Linked DNA regions of Homo sapiens: region 2 is linked to region 1. Evidence: promoter capture Hi-C in 16 types of primary human blood cells and fetal thymus (Javierre and others, 2016). All regions are on one chromosome and are shown on one strand. Each heading gives the region's core, a stretch centred on a gene start or on the middle of the fragment in contact. The rest is flanking DNA. Distances are from core to core; before and after follow the strand shown.

Region 1 (4,587 bases), core at 1,469-3,968:
ATTCTCTCTTTTTCTCCCTAGCTCACACACATAAAGATTGGTACCCCTGAGGAGCAGATGCTACATCTGAGGTTAAAGTCTGCAAATGCACATAATTTCTGGAAGCTATTACTACTGCTGTGTTAGCTAAAGGATGCCTCCATCTCTGACCTTCCTTTTTCCATTCAGACTGTTATATAACCTAGTGCCTGCGTGCAGGATGTGAGTTGAGTGTTTGGGCCTTACCACCCCCCTCCCATTAAATCTTCCAGGAGGGACAGACAGGGGCTGGTTCAAAGAATGAGTTGGGGTGGGGGCAGAGGGTGGGGGGAAGGGGATATGGGTCAGCAGGTCAGCTGTGCAAGATGTATCCCACTCCTACTATGCCCCTCTCCCCTTTTTGCTGAGCCTAAGGGGGCTGGTGGCACTGAATGCTCCGGCGTTACATAATTTGCAAGAACAGCAAGTTACGGATTTGCTAGTCGGCTCTGCAGCCTGCCACCCTGATCGCTTGCAAGAACACCTTCTGGCAAGAATGACACCTGAAGATGTTAATAACACAGGGTGTGGGGGGGTCAAGAAGGAGAAAGGTGGCAGCACAAACCAAAAATTAGTGCAGCTTCCTAAATACTATGTCCCCCCCATTCCAAAAAAAAAAAAAAAGCCCCAGAAACACATGAAGGGGATTTTCTCCAGTGTTTCTGATTAACCCTGTTACATAACCCGCTCGCATTCCAAATCCACCGTCTCAGGGTCTAAATATACTCTTTGCAGCCAAAAGCTCCCCGCACACAAACTCACCGAGCTAGCGGCAGGTCCAGGCCCCCAGCCCTCATCCCCTTCCCTTTTGTCCCAGCCCTCGCCGCCCCCCTCCCGCTGAAACCGCGGTTCGCCGCGGTCACCCTTTGGAAATCGCCTTTAATTAAATGTTTTTCGCGTGTGTCATCCTGATGGCTTTTACTGTACTCGAATTCCGTGAATGGGAAAGCGCCTGGACAGGGGGTGTGGCTAAGGTGGGGGGGGGGATACTGTAAAACAGCCAGCACATGATCAGCCATATTCCTACCTCCAACTACAACATCGAGAGGAAGGGAGCAGTTCCTGGGGCCCCCATTCGCCTCTACCCAGCCCTCCCCAACCGCCGCCAGAAGCCGAGTGCAAGAGGAGGGGGCGCGCTGGGCCGGTACCCAAGCCGGGGCTGGAGAAATCCTCTCCGTCCCCAGCTCCAGGCGGCTCGCGCGAGCACGCTTCCTCCGGAGTGACAGGCGCGATTTATACATTATTTACAACAGTAATTAAAGCTGTAGCTTCCTCCTGTTCTTTGCAAACTCCAGGCGCATTCAAATAAATAATCCCCCACTCTCGAGAAAAACACACATCAGGTTCCAATACCTTCAAGAAAGAGTGAGCTTTCCTCAACAGCTCACTTTAGGAAAGGAGGGAGCAACTGAGTCCCCCCCATCCCCCCCAACACACGCAGACACAGACCAAACACCAAAATGAAGAGTAAAAATCGCCAGGGGAGGAGAAAACATTGCTTGCACTATCCAACCAGCATACAACTTGCACTGACCATCCCCAGGTTCCTGCAGAAATGCTTGGAACCTCCGAGAGGGAAGGATTCCCAGAGCAGAAATAAGTTTCGGTGCTTGCTTTTGTAGACGCTCCCTCCGGATGCGCGTGGAGCGCCCCACAGGACCGCCGCCCTCTGCGCGTTGGCGCGCACACGCCCCCCGCCAGCCTGGGCGCCGGGCTCCGAACCCCCGGTCTGCAAACTTGCGCATCTCCCCTCGCCGCGCCCGCCAGACAACTTGGCGAACAGCTCGCCCGCCCGCACCCCGCTTCCTTCGGCCCTTCCTTCAAATCCCAAACGCACCGCCGTGCTCCAAAGAAGGTGTCCACGTCGCCCCCAGACCCCGGAGCGCCCCCTCTCCACCCCCGGGACTTCCCAGGTCGCTCACTCCTCCCGCCCCCCGCCCAGATCTGAGAGGGACCGAAAACACACCCCCGACTCGGGCAGCCAGGGCCGAAACTGTCAAGAGGAGAAAAGGTAAAGCGGAAGGAGGGTGGCCATAAACAGATTTTTTTGCCCCTTCTTAAAAGGACACTGCCGCTTTAAAAGTTTCTTTCCCGGGCCCCCACTCCCCGCATCTCCGTATTTTGGGGGAGCGTATTTAATTGAGGCAACGCAGCTTTCCTCCAGTGTTTGCAGAAAAATCAAAGCCAGGGGGGTGAGCCCGCCGGCTGTCAACCTTCCCGCCGCCTCCCCCGCCCCACTCTGCTCCCGCAAGCCGAGAACGGGCTGCAAAAGTTTGCAACATTTCTGGGGGGCGGAGGGGGGAGGGGAGGGGGGTCCTCCGGGCTCGGGGCGCCGCCGCAGGCTCGCGCGCGGCCGCCGGACCCCGCGCCCCGGGCGCCCGCTCCCGGCCGCCCCCCGCTCCGCGCCCGGGCTCCCGCCGCCCCCTCCCCAGCCCCTCTCCAGCCTCCTACCTCTGCTGGTGCTGGAATAGCTCTGTCTGCGCACCGGGGCAGGCGGCTCGCTCTTGCGGGCGGATTCCTGGTTCAGCGGGGTCTCCCTGGAGCCGGCGGCCGCGTCCGCGCCGCTGCTGCCTGGCTCGCTGGCGGCGGGGTCGGGGGCTGCCGGAGCTGACTCCATGTTTTTTCCCAATGTAGAGATCGCTGGAGATGGCGAGCTCCGAGACTCCCTCTATCTTCTGTTTTCAGAGCAACTCTATGGTACCAAAAAAAAAAAAAAAAAAAAAAAAAAAAAAAAAAAAAAAAAAAGAAGGAGAAGGCGACCGGCGAAAGCAGGAGGGAAAAAGCAGGCGGCGGCGGGCGGGCAAGCAAAAGCGCGAGGGAGCGCGCGGAGTGTCTGGGTGGACGTGTGTGTGCGCCCGAAAGGGGACAAGAGGCGGGTCTGGCCACAGGCAGCGCTAGCGAGAGCTTCTCCAGCCGGCCCCCACACCCACATTCCCCACCCTCCAGACCCCAGACCGAGAGCCACAGACTGGCTGCCAATTTTGGGAGGTGGGGAAAAGAGGGGAGGAGGAGAACAGAGCCTCCCGCGCCCCAATCCTCCCCTCTCCCCAGCCCAGGGACAGAAATTAAAATCGGTGAGATGATTCCGTGCCTACTTCTGAGACTCTCTCGGGAACAGAACTCGTCCCCATCCGCTGCCAGCTTGGGTAGAGACAAATCCGATTGTCCACGTCCACGTTGGGAAATCGCAGGTAGCCCCCTGCCAGCCCTGCCGAGGGCTGAGGAGAAACTAAAAAGGAATTAGAACGGGGCTGACATCCCAAGGAAGGCGGAGGATGGGAGGACGTGGCACTTTTTACTTTGGGATGGGACGGCCAGTGGGTTTCCAATCTTGGTTAAAGACATCTGTGTCTAAAACAGATTTTGTGAATCTAGAAGCGCCATGGACAGTTTCTGGCATGGTTGAAAGAGGTCGCTTTCAGCTCCTTTGCTGTTTGTCCGCGAAGGATCCAGAAACCATTTGGCAGGGCATTTTCTACTGAAGAAAACTTTGGCCTGTTTGGTCGACAACTATCTAAGCTGGATAAAACATGCCACGCTGCATCTAGCTCAAGCGTGGCTGCTAATTGTCAATTCCCACTGGTACTTTTCCTATTAAATGTACAGTCTCATCCATAAAAGGTAGATATACTGGAGAGGCATTACTAATGCCCGGATAACATTCAGATAATTAACAGCTCCTAATAATTCGTATTATTATAGGCATCATTCTACACCCTCCTCCCATTGAAATACATTCATCCCCTAGTAGGTACCTAAAACTCCAGGAAAGCAGATAATTGCATCATCGTTACCTTGACTGCAAACTCCAAGATGAAGGAACAATACAAATTGAAAGAATGGAAAATACTCCAATGGTAGTAGCCTGATTTGTCTGCCTTCATACTCAATCTACCACTTTCTTTTGCCTGCGAAGACACTGTGGAAATACGCCCCACCTTCCTTTCAAAAGGATCCAAAATTTTGACAATAAATAATATTATTAGAGGCCAGAAGGTGGCATAAATATATGTGCTTCAGAACGTGGGGTAGGCGGAGGGAATTGGGGGACATTTTTCTTTTGCTAACTTCCTGGTTTGGAAAAATGCTTTAAAAAATAGTAAGTGCGGGAAACCCAGTTAGCTAATCCTTCAGAGGAACCGCCATATGCCAAATTTCACACATAGTTTCTGTTACTGTTACTGATCTTGATCTTATTTCAAATACACAATGCCCTTTGCCATAGTCTGTGTACTAATCAGCAAAACCTGTGGTCCACTCTTCGGGGTGATGTAAATGAGATGTGAACAGTCCTGATACCTTAATCCTGTCTCTGCAAGGATCCCTGGCTTTAGCCTGTCTGTTGGCGCCTACAAACAATGCACAATTGTCTCCTCCATCCCAAATCAGACGTGTGGGTTTCCCCATACGTGAAAGCACAGATTTCCAGAGTAGCCTTCACAACATTTACCATTGGTTAGCCTGTTAGTAATGTTCTTGATGCAATTGACCTAGCTTGTTACACTTGACTTTTCTAAGGAAACAAATATATCAAAGTGTACAGTTTAAGAAACAACTTCCTCTGGGACA
Region 2 (4,252 bases), core at 740-3,239, 590 kb after region 1:
GAAAAGGACACTATGACTCTCGTGCTAATATGCTCACCTTTCACAGCAACTTCCTGCCACGTCTTCTTTCTTGAGTGGCAGCTGGCAGTGACCGTGTCCCCGACCTGTGGGTTCTGTACCTCAGCAGCTGCCCTGTGAGCAGTCCGTCCTCTCAGCAACCCCTTAGGGAACAAAGTCCTGGTAAGCTGGACCAGCCTGACCCAAAGCCAGGGCAGGACACATCCTGTCACAAACTCATACCCACCACAACCACAAACAACAGACTTTGAAAATGGCTTCTTCCAAGAGGTCCCCAGACACCTGGCAACCCATTAAGATGGTAATGAGGAGGACGTCTCCTGGCATTTTCAAGATTTTAGAAAAGCCCCAGAAATAATACCGGTGGATTATCTCCCATTTTATAAAATATAAAGATGTATATATGGAATAGATTCCTAATTAGTTAATGAAGTTTGCTTCTTTCAGAAACACCCACGGAGCACAGGGCTGGGAAGGGGGAAGATAGCAAGGGGGTCCCTGGTGCCTGCAGATTAGAAATTCTGAGTTAAAACTCCAGCTAAAATGAAAGGGTGTTATCTGAGAAAAACAATCGCATTAGGCTGTCATCATTTATGAACACCTGAGTGTAAATTAGCCAGTGAGATTAGTTGTTCACAAATCAAAGATTTGCGTGGGACCGGGAAGGGGGAAGAGAGGATAAAAGAGGAGATTGGGAAGGACCAAGACAGTCTTAAATAGGGAACTGGATAAAGATAACCTAAGATAAAAATACCATAAAAATAACCATGCAGGCCACAAAGCAGCTTTACATCTCCCACTTCATTTGCCCCTTCACAGCCCAGGACAGTGAGAACTATAATTATCCTCCAAGAGGCAGCATGGCACGGCAGAGCCAGAATGCTGGCTTCAAAGCTCACGCTACGGCTCTACTAGCTGTGTGATTTGGGCAACTTATTCAACCTCTCTGTGTAGATAATTATAGTATCCACCTCATAGGGCTGCTGTGAGAATTAGATGAGTTAATTCATGAGACCCTTAGAACATGCTTGGCACAGGGTAAGCACTCAATACATGTTAGCTGTTATTTTATAACTGAGGCATAATAATGAGGTAAAGAGATTTGGCCAAGGTCACCAGCAACAATACAGCAAAGTCTACACCCGTGCAACTTCAGGTTTCCTGGGAAAAGGAATCATCTGGGAAAGGTAGTTAGGACATGCAGATTCCCAGGCCCCGCCCCAGATATTCTGATTGGGTGGGTCAAGTAGACGGTGCCATAGGAGGGCAAGAATCTGCATTCAGAACAGGCTCTGCCCAGGTGATTCCGATAGAGAGGATCAGCAGGGGACAGCCTGGGGAACCCCAGCTGGGACACAGAGGCTCCTGCTGCCTCACTGGTCTGCCATCCAGGAGACCGCAGGGGCCCCCGAACCTCCTCTTCCCAACTCCTTGACCAATAGCCAGGCCCACTGATGGCTTCGCAGGGCAGCATAGCCCCCTACTCCTGACTTACTATGCATTTTTCTTTCTCTAGTTTCCAAGGTAAAAAGCGAGGCAAACCATTATCAGAGAGACAAAGAGTTCTCTCCAAGACGAAGAGCTTTAAAACCAAGCTGCACTTCAGAGTGGATTTTACCACTGGGTTCCGTAATGGAAATGCTGACATAATCTTAATTATGAGGGAGACTTTCCTTCAGATGGAAATGCGGTGACCTAGAAGGCTCCATTTGCAAGTCCTCCTGACCTGTAAGAGAAGATGCCTGGTGGAATATTTTGGGTAATATATTATGCATCTACTTATCCTATGATCCCCATCTGTGGGCTTAGCAAGGCAGTATTTTGAAGAAAGGGAGAAAAAAATATGAACACCAGGCTTGAGAACACTCGCCTGGATCAGAGACCAGGGTGAGCTTTCTACTCTGCAGTGTTTTGCATTTCATATGAAGCAAAATCTATTTCAGGTGCTGCTGAAAATGCAGGAAAAGTACCAGTGACTAGAGTCCTAGGAATTAAACTGGCCTCAGTTCAGAGACGCAGAGTGGTCTCATACCATCTTTTCTGCATATTCATAATTTGTCAATGTGAAGAGGTCTTTGCTACCAAGAAAAAAAAAAAAGAAAGGAAGGAGGAAAGACAGACAGGAAGAAGAAAACGTTCCTTGGGAACTATCATCTCATACGAATGAGGTGGCTCCCTTCACACCAGCCCCGGGAGGCACACACGTCATCAGCCTCTGTCCTCTAGCATTTGACTTAATGCAATCTCTGCCAGGCATTTCTCGCCAAGATATGAATGGTGTGGACTCTAGGTTGAATATATTACTCAGAAAACAAGGCTGCCTCCCCTGAGAGTGGGGCAGTATTTAGATATTTAGCTCGTGGCTAGGATAAGAGGGCAGGCCCCTAAGCAGGAATAGAAGGCTGCAGTGACTCAATTTCTTAGCAGAGATAAAGGGTAAACCCTTGAGGTGGTGCCCTCCTGTGGAGCTGAGTCACCTGCAGGCTTACATGTGGCTACGATTGGCCATGAGTTTCTATCTACCTTCATCTCATTCATCTACAGCAGTGGTAAATCACCATGATATTTTTTTTTTTTTTTTGAGACGGAGTCTCGCTCTGTCCCCCAGGCTGGAGTGCAGTGGCGCGATCTCAGCTCACTGCAAGCTGCGCCTCCCAGGTTCAAGCCATTCTCCTGCCTCATCCTCCCAAGTAGCTGGGGGTACAGGCACCCACCACCATGCCCGGCTAATTTTTTGTATTTTCGGTAGAGACGGGGTTTCACCGTATTAGCCAGGATGGTCTCGATCTCCTGACCTTGTGATCTGCCTGCCTCGGCCTCCCAAAGTGCTGGGATTACAGGCATGAGCCAGCGCGCCCGGCCACCATGATACTTTTTTAAAGCACACAGTTTCATTTGTTTTGACAAACATATACACCCATGGAGAAACACCCTCATCAGGATACAGAACATTTCCATCCCCACAGAGTGTTCCCTCATGCCCTCTTCCAATCAATCTTCTCCTCCCCAGAGGCAACCATGCTTCTGATATTTTTTACCATAGATAGTTTCACCTATTCTAGAATGGTAATATCAGTGGACTCATATAGCATGGCCTTGTTTGGCCTCTTGCATTAAATGTAGCATTTCTGAGATTCACCATGCTATCGTGTCAGTAATTCACTCCTGCCGTAGACTGAATGTTCATGTCTTCCAACATTCAAATGCTGAAGCCTAATTCCCAATGTGGTGGTATTTGGAGGTGGGGCCTTTGGGAGGTGATTAGGTCATGATGGCAGAGCCCTGAATGAGATTACTGCCCTTATAAGAGAGACCCCAGAGAGGCCCCTCACCCCTTCTACCATGGGATGACACAGTGGGAGAAGTTGCTGTGAACCAGAAAGCAGCCCTCACCAGACACTGAATCTGCTGGTGCCTTGATCTTGGACTCCCAGCCCCCAGAGCTGTGAGAAATAAATTTCTATTGTTTATAAACCACCCTCTATGATTTTTTTTTTTTTTGAAACAGGGTCTCACTCTGTCACCCAGGCTGGAGTGCAATGACACCGTCATGGCTCACTGAAGCCTCGACCTCCCAGGCTCAAGCAATCCTCCTGCCTCAGCCTCCCAAGTAGTTGGTACCACAGGTGCATGCCACCATGCCTGGCTAATTTTTAAATTTTGTGTAGAGATGGGGTCTCACTATGTTGCCCAGGCTAGTCTCAAACTCCTGACCTCAAGTGATCCTCCGCCTCTGCCTCCCAAAGTGCTGAGATTACAGGCATGAGCCACCACACCCAGCATCTGACCACTGTTTAAGTGTTGGCAGCTCACTCGACAGTCCCACTTCTCGCGAAGGCATCTGTGTCCCCGAGCAAGCAAAGCCTTTGGTTTCCCGCAGGCTCTGCTATCTACAGCAGCTCTTCTTCACACCGGCTTTCAGGATCCCGGATTTGTAGGGAGCTCTTGGGTTAACTTCTTGCCCCTTCTCCATCCTTCCTCTCAGCAGTGCCGTGGTTCTCATGGGAAGCAGGAATTTCCCCATCAGCCCTTCCCCATCCCCAAATCATTAATGACCTTGACTGGTGGACGTGTGTGAAGCAGGCAGGAGTTGTAGAGGCACCGAGAGTGAAAGGTTTCCTGAGCTCCGGGGAGAGGGAGCAGGGAGGATGAGGGAGGGCACGCTTTGAGGCCCCCAGAGTCTGTGCTAATTTATCCTTCCTCTCAAATTGCCTCCAAACTTCAGTAATAAGCA

The links. Contacts are between HindIII fragments. The CHiCAGO score rates a contact against its expected background, and 5 or more counts as called.
Region 2: a contact is called between a fragment that was not itself captured here and the fragment with the promoter of RORA in region 1, in 1 of 17 cell types (M2 macrophages). The highest score is 5.2, in M2 macrophages.

Annotation. Positions count from the first base shown.
Region 1 is chr15:61,226,584-61,231,170 of GRCh38, forward strand. It overlaps RORA (RAR related orphan receptor A), which reads right to left and starts at 2,719. Exons shown (of 11, transcript NM_134261.3): 1 at 2,470-2,719. The coding sequence starts at 2,635. The HindIII fragment of the contact is 13,095 bases long and covers 1-4,587 here.
Region 2 is chr15:61,815,719-61,819,970 of GRCh38, forward strand. No RefSeq gene overlaps it. Among named protein-coding and RNA genes, the nearest start is that of LINC02349, 88 kb to the left of the region's middle. The HindIII fragment of the contact is 5,849 bases long and covers 1-4,252 here.